3 separate regions of the Homo sapiens genome follow, and regions 1 and 3 are each linked to region 2. Evidence: promoter capture Hi-C in 16 types of primary human blood cells and fetal thymus (Javierre and others, 2016). All regions are on one chromosome and are shown on one strand. The core of a region is centred on a gene start or on the middle of the fragment in contact, and the rest is flanking DNA. Distances in the headings are between cores, read along the strand shown.

What was found. Contacts are between HindIII fragments. The CHiCAGO score rates a contact against its expected background, and 5 or more counts as called.
Region 1: a fragment that was not itself captured here is called in contact with the fragment with the promoter of DVL2 in region 2 in 3 of 17 cell types (M0 macrophages, erythroblasts and naive CD8 T cells); the score reaches 7.2 in M0 macrophages.
Region 3: a fragment that was not itself captured here is called in contact with the fragment with the promoter of DVL2 in region 2 in 1 of 17 cell types (activated CD4 T cells); the score reaches 5.4 in activated CD4 T cells.

The regions. Positions count from the first base shown.
Region 1 is chr17:7,835,368-7,839,115 of GRCh38, reverse strand. All of the region lies in intron 1 of KDM6B (lysine demethylase 6B), which reads right to left. LOC124904106 (translation initiation factor IF-2) reads left to right here. Exons shown (of 4, transcript XM_047437265.1): 4 at 2,472-3,708. The coding sequence ends at 3,499. Among named protein-coding and RNA genes, the nearest start is that of KDM6B, 3.0 kb to the right of the region's middle. RefSeq lists silencers at 1,328-1,477, 3,018-3,077, 3,098-3,517 and an enhancer at 2,348-2,397. The HindIII fragment of the contact is 2,138 bases long and covers 182-2,319 here.
Region 2 is chr17:7,232,124-7,236,005 of GRCh38, reverse strand. DVL2 (dishevelled segment polarity protein 2) reads left to right here and starts at 1,489. Exons shown (of 15, transcript NM_004422.3): 1 at 1,489-1,937. The coding sequence starts at 1,744. It overlaps PHF23 (PHD finger protein 23), which reads left to right. Exons shown (of 5, transcript NM_024297.3): 4 at 1-76; 5 at 166-968. The coding sequence ends at 380. RefSeq lists an enhancer at 1,292-1,341 and a silencer at 1,452-1,751. The HindIII fragment of the contact is 14,867 bases long and covers 1-3,882 here.
Region 3 is chr17:8,150,524-8,154,680 of GRCh38, reverse strand. PER1 (period circadian regulator 1) reads left to right here and starts at 2,277. Exons shown (of 23, transcript NM_002616.3): 1 at 2,277-2,344; 2 at 3,836-4,157. The coding sequence starts at 3,975. RefSeq lists enhancers at 233-372, 1-404, 2,036-2,330, 3,544-3,653, 4,123-4,157 and a silencer at 3,284-3,383. The HindIII fragment of the contact is 3,689 bases long and covers 933-4,157 here.

The DNA.
Region 1 (3,748 bases), core at 1-2,500, 600 kb before region 2:
GCTCCTCAGGGACCTATGTTTTCTGCTCCCTTAATCATAGTTCTCTGCCCTTATGGACCCAAACACTTGGGGTCCCAATCTAATCTCTATATTCCCTAGCCTTCCGGCCCCCATCCTTCCCCTTGCCTCAGAGACTCAGGCCTCTAGCCCCCAGTCTCCATGATGCAATGTTCCGCAAGCTTCTGTGGCTGCTGATGACACTGCCCCCAGGGAGGTGCTATTTGTGACCCACCAAGGCCTCCTTCCTAAGCCAGGGTAGTGGTCAGCTGTAGGTGGTAGAGGTCAGGCAGGCAAGGCCCTTCTGCTCGGGAAGGGAGCTTCAGGCTAGAACTCTCCAGGACAGGGAGGCTCATAACCTGGGAGCAGAGAGTGTGTATCTATAGTCTGTGGCATCTGTGTTCTGCGGTTGTGCTGGGGGGAGGGACTAGGAAAGGGCTAGTCGAGAGCAGAGTGGGCAGACTTTAGGACAGACCAAGAGGAGGAGTGAGGGGGAAGCCTAGGGGGTCAGAGGGTGTGTGAGGGGTGTCTGGACAACAGAGTGGGGGAGGGGCTAACAGCCATTTAAAGGGCCAGCCCCAGAGCTTTAATCCCTCACCAGCCCTGGCCCCAAGCCGGAGGCTGTAATTCATCTGTCCAACAGCTGGGGTGTGTGTGTTTGTGTGTGTGTGGGGGGGGGGGCTTCCTCCCCCTTCTATTCCCTCCCTCCTCCTCCCCGTCCCTGAGTCCCGGAGTCAAACAAAGAACTGTAGCAGGCTCTCCCCAACCCCCTCCCTCCTCCTCCTCCTCCTCCTCCACCTCCTCCTCCCCTCCCTCCCTCCCCACCAGCAGGCTCCCTCCTCCTCCCTTCCGGTCTCTTCCTTTAACTACCCGCCCCCCCAGCCCCCAGCACTAGTCTCTCTCCACCCACCCACCCCAACCTTTTACACACCCCTCAGCCTAGCCCTGTCCCCACTAGAGAAACTGTGGAGTCCCTCTGCAAAACGAAAGGCTCCAGAGATCAACACGGGAGGGGGCTGGGGTCTTGCTTCAAAATCAAGAACCATAATACAATTATTTTATTTTCAAGGCCCACGGAATAGTCTTAGCTATTTCTTGTCCAAGAGAAAAAAAAATAATCCTAAAGAAAGCAATACAAATCTGCCTAAAGCCTTCATCAAATAAAATGCACAAAGCAGTTGAAGCTAATCCCCAGCCCCCTAACCCCAATCTCCAAATTAACACAAACTATCCACTACCCCTTAACAAACTCCTACGGTTACCGCTGGTTTGGAGCAGACCCACAGCAATAATAATAAACTAGTAACTAACACCATTTAATAATAAAAGTATTTCATAACAACAAGCACTCATTCTGTGTTCATTCTGTGCCAGGCACTGTGCTAAGTGATTTGCATAAATTATCTCATTTTTTTCCTCCCAGCGGCCTTCAAGGTAGGTGTTGATATTTAAATGTTCAAGATTAACATACGAGGCTCAGAGAGGTTCTGACCTCTCCAAGTCCTAGTAGCCACTAAGTGACAGAGCTAGAATTAGAATCCAGGTCTGATCTGACAGCCCAAGCTCTAAGGTACATAAAAGCACAAACCGATTCATTCCAATACCATCACCAACCCTGGGACTTAATAGAGAAGAACAACCATAGCAATCAACTGAGTCCCCCTCCACCAAGTGAGAGGCTACAAACCGATTCACCCGCATACACACAATAAAGACCCTGACTTTTCAGCCTAATACTGTTTCTTGACCCTTTTCCTTTCATTGTTTGCAGATGGGGGTGTGCCATTATGGGGATTTCAGGGATAAGCTGGTGTGTAGTGAACCCCCCCCCATACTACACACAACTCTTCCGTCTTTCAACCACTCCCACTTCAAATCAATCTGGGGAAGGGGGCAATAGGACACTTGGCCATGCAGCAGGTGGGAAAGTAAAATGACGGCTAGGTAGCTTTTTCTATGGGGGCGGAGCCTTGGAGGGGAAGCTCTTCTGTGCCAATCTAGGGAAAAGTGACCCAAGGCTCCCTCAGCCCAGCAAAGGGGCAAAGTCTTTCAGCCACACCACACCCGTGCCCCTCCCCCTCACAAAACTCCAGGCCGGGGTTTCCCACCTGCAGGATGCTAAGACCACGGGAAGGGAGAGGGGAAAGAGATGGCACGGGACTGGAACTGGACTCGGGGCAGAGGTGGGAGGGAATAGAAGGGGGAGGAAGCCTCATTGCCTGGCAACCATCCCGGGGCACGTGCACTAGTGACATCATCCCAGGCCACCTCTAACACAGACCTTTGACCCCTACGGGGCGGAGTGGGTGTGCTGGCTAAGCTTCCTGGAAACACTGGAAACACCCTTAGGAATTCTGGGAACCCAAAAAGGAGACATAAGAAGAAACCCAGGCGTCCTTATCTCTTTTACCCCTAATACGACTCCAATCCCAGGGACTCAGGCCTCTTGCCTGTCTCCTCCTCTCCGCCTGCAGCCCTGACCTCCCAACCCACATTTCTGACGGGAGTCGGCCCGACACGCCCCTCGGAGATACTGTGCCTTCTCTCTCCTGGGCGAGATCTCGGTGGGGGCCGGCAGGCGGGGACGGGGGCACCGGGTCCCGCGGGGCTCCGTCTTCCATCTGCAGGATCCCCCGTGCCCCAGCCGGCCGCCAGCCGGAATCTGTCTGGGTCCCCAACTCTCCCGCCCCTCCCCGCGCTGTTCCAGGGCGGAGTCTGTGGAGTTGAAACCAGGACACGGCGAGAGGAAGAGTTATATAACCGGGAGAAGCGAAGAAGGACGAGTGGAGACAGGGACAGACAGCCCGAAAGGAGCCGAGGGAGGTGCAAAGAACGCCGGGGCGAACGAGGAGGAAACGTTAGGAATGGGAAGGGTTTTGGTGCACATCAAAGAGCAGGAATTCACGCGAAGAAGGGGCGTGATGGCCCAGAAGAATCACCTGGGCCGTCCGGGGCTTCCCCGCAGTGCCCTCCTCCGCCACCAACAGCAGCTGGGCCCGGGCGGGAGAAGCCTTGGGAAGGGGCGCTGGTACCCGCTCGCTTTCTCTTGGGAAAGCAACTTAAGCCAGAGCCCGGGAAGGCAGCGGCCGAGCAGATGGGGCCGGAAACCACAGCTCCGCCCAGCCCACCTGGGAGTGTGGGGCGCCAGCTGGGGGGAGGTGGGGAACAGGTAGTCGGCCCTCCCGAGCCAGGCTGGGCATTATGGTCGCGACCGGCGAAACGGTGCAGACCGACCGAGACGTGTGGGTCCCCAGGGGCTGAAGAGCGCAGCCTCAGGCGGCTTTACACAGACTCCACGAGGGGAGGGGGGCGCCCGGCTCGCCGCGCAGGCGCAAGGGGGTGCTCGGGCGCGTGCGGCGCAGGGCGGGGGGTGGGCGCGAGCGTGTGGGAGTGCACGTGCGGGTCCCAGGCAGCTGCTGCCTCCCAGCCTCCGCCGCTGCCCCTCCCCTCTCCCTTTCCTGTCGCTATCATCCCCCTTCCCCATTGGCTGCCAGGGCCCTGACGTCAGGGCCGACCGCTGGAGCGGATTGGGCGGACGGGAGAGTTCGGGAATCCGGCTCCCAAGTCTCGCCCTCCAGTTACTCTGGCAACAGGACAAGCAACCCAGGGGAGGGAAGGGGAGCCGAGGTCAACGCTGCGCCTCGGTCCCTAACCCCCTCCGGACAACCACCGAGTCCCCTTCGGTCGCGGCGCAGCTCGCTACCTCCCCGCCTTCCTCCCAGGGCTCTTCCTGTCCCGGGAACCAGGCGTC
Region 2 (3,882 bases), core at 240-2,739:
ACAAGCCAAGATGGAGATGCCAGCTCCAGTGAAGGCGAGATGCGGGTCATGGACGAGGACATCATGGTAGAATCAGGTGAGAGGTTCGGGCTGGGGCGAGGGGTTTGAGGGTGTTGTGGATCCAACAGCTCAGGCAGAATACCAAACAAACCTTTTTTTCCCCAGGTGATGACTCATGGGATCTGATCACATGTTACTGTCGAAAGCCCTTTGCAGGGCGGCCCATGATTGAGTGCAGCCTGTGTGGGACGTGGATCCACCTCTCCTGTGCTAAGATTAAGAAGACCAACGTCCCCGACTTCTTTTATTGCCAGAAATGCAAGGAACTGAGGCCAGAGGCCCGGCGGTTAGGGGGGCCTCCCAAATCTGGAGAGCCCTGATGGCACCAACTTTAGCCTGGAACTTCCAAATGACAACATGATTTGGGAACTGAGCCTCAGGGTCCTCAGCCTATCCCCTGGAGCTTGGATACTGTCTGCACTTCAAGGCAGGAATTCTCAAGGGAGACTTGTTTGAAAATGAGTGTCTCACTTTCCCACCCTATCCTTCCTCCCCACTCTGTGGACTTGAAATTGAATCCATTACGGTTGGGGATGGGAGGCTGTCTGTGTCCCGACACATAATCTCTGTCTCTTGGACCTGCCACCATCACTTTCTGGGTCAGGATTGGAATTGGGATGGAATGGGACAGTTGTCTATAAAACTCTAGTGTAAATATTAGCACTCCCCTCCCTCATCTTTTCTTCTATTTCACTCCCCATTTATTTTCTTCTACACCGGTTGTATTTTTAATTTTGGACTTCCCCTATTGGGCATGGCAGCTCAAAGGTGGAGTACTAGAGCCTGGCCAAGTGAGGAAGGAAAGCAGAAAGGTGACGATTCTCACTCACCTCTTTTGTTTTTAATAATATCGGCCGCTGTTTGTACAGACAGCCTGCGTGTTGTAAATAAAGCAGAGTGGGCTCTTTTGTGTTTATAGCCCTCACTGTCCTGCTCGGGAGGGAGGCTTTGGTGGCTGAAGACTAGCTGGAGGTGGGGCTGAAACCCACGTCTCAAAGTCCAATCTGAAGATATCACAGCACTGGGCCTTTCCCACCCCAAGACAAGTAAGCCACCTTAGAGCTTTCATTGTATTTGGCCCTCCCCACTCGAGTCTAGGAACCCCCACAGTCCCCACCTTCACTCCCTGCACGCACACTCCTGCGGGTCAGAGTTGCTTCGTGCTCCATCGTGGGTGGGGTAAAGCGGGGTGGGAGCCGATGGTCCGTTTCCTGAAGGCACAGGCCAGCTTAGCCTGGGTGCTCAGAGGACCTCGGCTGGGGTACACGTTTGGGGGCTGGGAGACCGTTGCTGAAGGCAGCGATCATGTGGCGGGGGCACTAGGCGGAGTCAGACGGTCACGTGATTGGGAGGGGATCACGTGACGGAGGGCGGCTGAGGAGCGCGGGGTGGCTGCCTTTAAGTCACGTGACATGAGGAGAGGTGGGCGGGTACCTGGAGGAAGCTCGCGGCGTCGGTGGCGGTGGCGCGCGGCGGCCGCTGAGACCGGGGCTTTGAGTCGCACCCCGCGGCCCGCCCCCCGCCGCCACCCTCGCAGATCCGTGCTTTTTCCCCTTTGCTTCTCTCCCGTACTGGGTCAGTCCTGTCCGCGCTCGCGCGTCGGTTTGCGGGTGTGCGCAGGCGCGGCAGGGGCCATTAGCCCTTTGGGTGGGCGGTGGAGCCCGGGAGCGCGCGGGCGAGACCATGGCGGGTAGCAGCACTGGGGGCGGTGGGGTTGGGGAGACGAAGGTGATTTACCACCTGGATGAGGAAGAGACTCCCTACCTGGTGAAGATCCCTGTCCCCGCCGAGCGCATCACCCTCGGCGATTTCAAGAGCGTCCTGCAGCGGCCCGCGGGCGCCAAGTACTTTTTCAAGTCTATGGATCAGGATTTCGGGTGAGCGCAAGGCCTAGATAGGACCGGCGGGGGCTTTGCTAGAGTGGATTGGGCGACATGGAGGGGCACACGTCTACTTTGGGCCACACTGGGATTTTCTGGCCTATGGTGGAGCAGATTGTACTATGCTGAGGTAGGTTGACTATCCCAGGATGGACAAGGTTATGCTTGGATAGATTGAGGCACACGGACAGACTAGGATATCCTAAACCAGATTAGACAAGATTAGGCTTTACTGGAATAGGTGGGGGCATACTGGTTTATGTTGGAGTATTCTAGTCTGTACTGAGTAAATTGATCCATTGTCTGGTTGTTTAGTACGTTCTCAGGAGTCCTGTAACGCCTGTAATCCCAGCACTTTGGGAGGCTGAGGCGGGCGGATCACGAGGTCAGGAGATCGAGGCCATCCTGGCTAACACGGTGAAACCCCATCTCTACTAACTAAAAATACAAAAAATTAGCCGGGCGTGGGGGCACGCGCCTGTAGTCCCAGCTACTTGGGTGGCTGAAGCAGGGAGAATCTCTTGAACCTGGGAGGCGGAGGTTGCAGTGAGCCGAGATCGCGCCACTGCACTCCAGCCTGGGCGACAGTGCGAGACTCCGTCTCAGAAAAAAAACAAAAAACACTTGGGCCATTATGGACTCTACTGGGTTGTATTGGTTAATCCTGGTTTCTCTTGGGGCAAGACTTGGTTTTATTGGAGCACTCGGTATAGGGGCAGACAAGGCTGTTGGGGCCTGTGCTAGCACAGGCAGCCGTATTGGGATGTTCCAATCTAGACTGGTGCAGACAGCTGCGTGTGGGGGCATTGTAGGCTGTGCTAGAATAGATTGGGCTATCCTAGGGTAATTTGGGACATTCAGGGCTATCTTGGACTAGATTGGCGTGTAAATAATGCAGAGAAAGCCCTTTTGTGTTTATGGTCTTTGGGGCTGAGCCTTCTGGGTCCTCAACCTCTGCTTTTTTTTTTTTTTTTTTTTGAGACAGTCTCGCTCTGTCGCCCAGGCTGGAGTGCAGTGGCGCATTCTCAGCTCACTGCAAGCTCTGCCTCCCGGGTCCACGCCATTCTCCTGCCTCAGCCTCCCAAGTAGCTGGGACTACAGGCGTCCGCCACCACACCCGGCTAATTTTTTGTATTTTTTAGTAGAGACGGGGTTTCACCGTTTTAGCCAGACTGGTCTCTGACTTCTGACCTCGTGATTCGCCCGCCTCAGCCTCCCAAAGTGCTGGGATTACAGGCGTGAGCCACCGCGCCCGGCCCAACCTCTGCTTTTTTGAAGGCAGGCTGGATTAAGTTGGGATAGCATGGGTTTTAGAAGAACTGAACAAACTGGACTCTAGCTAGAAAGATTGTTTGACATGGGGATGCTGATACTATCTTGGGAGTTATCTTGGCTTTAAGGCAAGGTTTTTCTAGTTGTCAGCAATGTAATCTTGGACAATTTATTTAAATTTTGTGTCTTGATCTCATCTGTGACATGGAGAAAATCACAGAATGAAATGGTTAGTTCACGTGTGTGGCACACGGGAAATTCTTGGTGAATGGTAATTGTAATTAGCATTGAGGCTGACCACTCTGTAAAGTAGGTTATGGTGATACAGAATAATTTGCCTCAGAGTGGACCAAGCTGTGCTGAGATTGTGTTATGTTGGGAAGAATCCTACATTATGCTGAGACGGGTTAGTAGTGACTGGGCTGTGTTGTCACGTTGACAGCAAATGGATTATGTTGATATATATCCTGGCTCCCATGACCATATTAGGCTAACGGGTTAATTAGACAAGGTGTCCTAATTTGGGGCTAAGGTTGTGTGTGGAAAGAGAGAGAGGAACAACTAGGGTAGAGAGTCTGATGCTTTATACGTTTATTCATTTAGTCGACAGTATTTGTTAATGCTTAAGTGTCAGTGTGTGGTGTGTGGCTAGGACATGGTGTTGACCAGA
Region 3 (4,157 bases), core at 1,528-4,027, 920 kb before region 2:
GAAAAGCCAGAGCTGCAGGAACAAGCTGAGGAGCGGGCAGATGGGAGTCCTGAAAAGAGAGCCAGGCGTGGTGGGGGGAGGTGTGGGGAGGGGGCCCCCTTCCTACTAATCCTCTCTCCAGGAATCCCTGGCTTTGGGACAGGACGGCTGTCGTTTTGTTGGGGGAGGCGCCCAGGCTGGGTGCATGTCCTGGGCCACCAGCCAAGAGAACATGATGTTCCCAAGTGCGCTGGCCGCCGCCCTCTCGGGCTGGCCGCCTCCCAAACCGCTGCCTCTCCAGTCTCTCCAGCCTCCCTGCCCCACATTCCGAGGCAGCTTCGCCCCGCCCCCTTCTTCCGCTTTGACGTCACTGCTGTCTCCCGCCCCCTCGCCTCCATTGACGGCAGCAGGGCCTGGTTACTGTGGGGACGGTGAAGCAGGACAACAAGAGTCTTGGGAGCAAGCGGGGGCTGCTGGAGGGCTGGAGCCTTTTGTCTATGCAAAAGACAGGGAGATGGAGGCGGGAGATCAAGGACTGCCTGGGTTAGGGGAGATCACACCTAAATCCCTGAAGGGGGAGAAAAACCATGTTTCCAGGGAAGAGGTATCTGCAAACGAGATAAGGCCAAAGCCACAGTATGAGTTGGGGTGGAGAGGATCATTTTCAGGGAGAGGAGACTGAGAATCCAAGCTCCTGAATCTTTTTTTTTTTTTTTAATAGAGACGGGGTTTCTCCATGTTGGTCAGGCTGGTCTCGAACTCGCTACCTCAGGTGATCCGCCTGCCTGGGCCTCCCAAAGTGCTGGGATTACAGGCCACCGCGCCCGGCCTCCAGGCTCCTGAATCTTTTGTTTTCCTGTTTCGATTTTTCTGGGTTAATTTATAACACGATCTTGTCTCAGCTTTTCCACAGAGCCCTCCCCTTCACCCTTCCCTCATTGTTCAGGAAAGCTTAGGCCACGTGACAGTGAGGGGAGTGCCCCCACAATGATTATGTCAGCAGCTGCTTGGAGGCCTGTTCATCTACTACCCACGTTTCCAGGGAGCCCTGCGAGGAACTACTCATCACGGTCCTGGATGGAGGGGGCTGTGTAACTGCAGCTCTCCTGAGCCCAGACTAACATTTTATTGCCTGCAAATCGTGCCCCTGTTCTCTTTCTAGGACTACTCATCTCTTTTAGAGAATCAGAATTCCCAGCCCCCTTTCTCCTGTTGACACTCTTTTCCCACCTCCCCAACCTATCCTTGTTTAAAAAAAAAAAAATCATGTTTATCGATCACTTGCCATGTGTCAGGTCCTGTCCTGGGCTCTGGAGACTACAGTGAATGAGACAGATGACGTTCCGTCTGGGCCCCTGGAGTTTGGCTTTCTCTTTTCCAAGCAGTGGAAATATGAAGCCCTTGCCACCCCACATTTCTCTGTCTAGGGCCCCAGCTGGCCTCTTCTCTGGGCCATCCCCTTGGTCCCTCTGTAGTCCTGGCTTCCTGGCCCCCACTTTTGGGGCAGCTTTAACTGTGGGTGGCTGCGTCCTCTGGAGGAAAGTACTAGACACCACGTAGGCTGCCCGGAGACCTTGTCTCTGAGTGGCCATAGAAGCACCTGCCATTGTTTCCCTTCACAGCCACTATTGGCTCTGGTTGCCCCTTCCATTGTCCGCATCCTTCCTCCACCCACTCACCCACCGGTCACACGTGGACCCTTAACTGTCCTCTCCCAGGATTTGAAGTGTCAGAGGAAGTGCTTCGGTTAAAGGGCTTCATTATGTAGAACGAAGGTTGGGAGGGAACAAGGTTGGGAAAGGAACCCAGGAGAGGCCCAGGCAGGTTTCTGTCTCTCCCCTCCTCTCAAGGACCACCCATCTCATCCAGCGTGGCCTAACTTGCAGCGCCATTCCTTTTCCTCACCCTTGGAAAGGCGAAGATGCCAAGATGTTGTGTTCTGCAAGGCTAGTGCGTTCAGGAAGTAGACAAGTCTTGAGCACCTACCCCGGGCCGGGCTTTTTCCCTAAAGAGGCGCAGCGTATCTCCCTCTCTCCTCCCTTCCATTATTCAATGTGCAAGCGTCCTGCGCCCATTGGCTGGGCGGTGTCTGGGGCTCTTCAGCCCAGCACCAGCACCCAGGTCCACGTGCGCCCGTGTGTGTGACACAGCCCTGACCTTAGTGGAGACCACTAGCCAATCAGGCGCCGGGAAGAGATCCCCAGCCAATCGGGGGCGGGGCCTGCGGCTCCGTCGGCAAGAGGCCAATGAGGGGGCAGTGCCCGGCATTATGCAACCCGCCTCCCCGCCCGCCCGGTGGAGCTTCCACTCGGCTGCGGGCTGGAGCGGCGGCGGGCAGGCGTGCGGAGGACACTCCTGCGACCAGGTAGGCATCTCTGCGGCCATCCTGGGGCCGATCTCCGTCCCTGAGCCGGACCGCTGCCACTTCCAATCTGATGGGCTACTTTCGGCCCAGGCAGAGGGCACACTGTCGTCCTTACCGCTACCCACCCTCTCCCTGCCCCCAAGGACCGAAGTCCTCCTCGAAATCTTGCACCGGGAGTCTGCACTCCTGACCCACTCATCTTACCTCCAGCTTGTCCCCACCTCCCCGTCCCAGCTTTCCCGGCCCCACAGCCGACTCTCAGCGGGCATGCCCCGGTCTTCTTGCTCGTTACTCGAGGGGCCCCAGGTTTGCCCCGGTACCAGGACCCTATTAGGCTTTCAGCGCTCCCCGTGTCTCTGTTCTCCAGTCCCTGGCCCTGCGCCGCCTGTGATGTCAGCCCACTTCGGACTAGAACATCCCGTTCCCAGCGCTGGTTCCTGCTGTTGGCCACAACCTTCCCTTTTCCCCTGGCGCTCAGAAAATGCTCAGTAGTAGGGGTGTGGTTGGACGGGGAGTAGGGGAAGAAAGATCTGTTGGCTGTTGTGTGTCTTCTGCCCAAGGCTTGGGGTTGGTGGGGGGGTCTGGCCAGAAAAGTAGGGGACTGAAGAGAGAGGATCCTCGGGTCCTTGACGATGGCAGGTTGCCGGCTTCGGTCCTTGTGGTGGGGAAGCAGCGCAGGGGCTAAAGAAGGAAAGGTTGTGTTGTCTTGACCAGAATGACTGGGATCCAGGCGAGAGTCAGGTTGAGGGGCTTTTGCGCCGAGGGCAGTGGCCGTTGTGCTTCGTCCTGGGGAAGCCAGGACCAACCCTGGGATCCTAATAGGCCGTCCCACTTCTTACGGCCACCGAGCCATCCTGGGACTGGGGATATGTAAGGGATGCGTGACCCCCCCGGCCGCGCCCACCAGTGTGAGAGTGGGCCGTTCCCCCACTTCCGCCGGGAAATGGGGGAGGGGTCGCTCCTCCCGCCCTCCTGTGGTCCCTCCAGCAACCGCTGAGCTCAGCAGCTGACGTCGGTTTCCCTGGCGACCGTGGCGGCGGCGGAAGCGCGTGGTGGGGCCGCGCACGTCGGCGCGCATGTGCAGCGGGGGTGGCACCGCCCCCGGATAAAATTAGCCTGGAGGCCTAAATATAGGAGGCGACCAGCTCACCTCCTGCTCCGAGGCCTTGGAGGCCCAGGCAGAGTGGACACCTAATGGGAACTTGGGAATGGGAAGTGTCCAGGTTTTTGTCTACAGCCGTGGTTCTCATTGACTGCTCAGGCCATGGTGGCAGGGGATGTGAAGGAAGGCCCCGGAGAACCTTCTCCCGCTGGCAGTCCCCCTAAGGGTACAGGAGACATCCTGACTCCCCATTGGAAGCCCCAGGCCTGGGTTCCACTCCCATCAGTCCTGCAGGAGGCCAGGCAGGGGGAAGGTCTGAGTGAAGCCAGCAGGTGCTCTGGAGTTAAACCAGCTTTCTGCAAGCCCTGCTTCCTGGTCTCCCTCTCCAGGTACTGGCTGTGATCGAACTTCTCAACCCTCAGAGACTTAGATCTTCCACCTCACTCCCTCAGCCAAGCCTCCAGGCCCCCTCGTGCATCCGTGGTGGCCTCTCTGCCTTCTCTGTTCTGTTCTCCCCATGGCCCAGACATGAGTGGCCCCCTAGAAGGGGCTGATGGGGGAGGGGACCCCAGGCCTGGGGAATCATTTTGTCCTGGGGGCGTCCCATCCCCTGGGCCCCCACAGCACCGGCCTTGCCCAGGCCCCAGCCTGGCCGATGACACCGATGCCAACAGCAATGGTTCAAGTGGCAATGAGTCCAACGGGCATGAG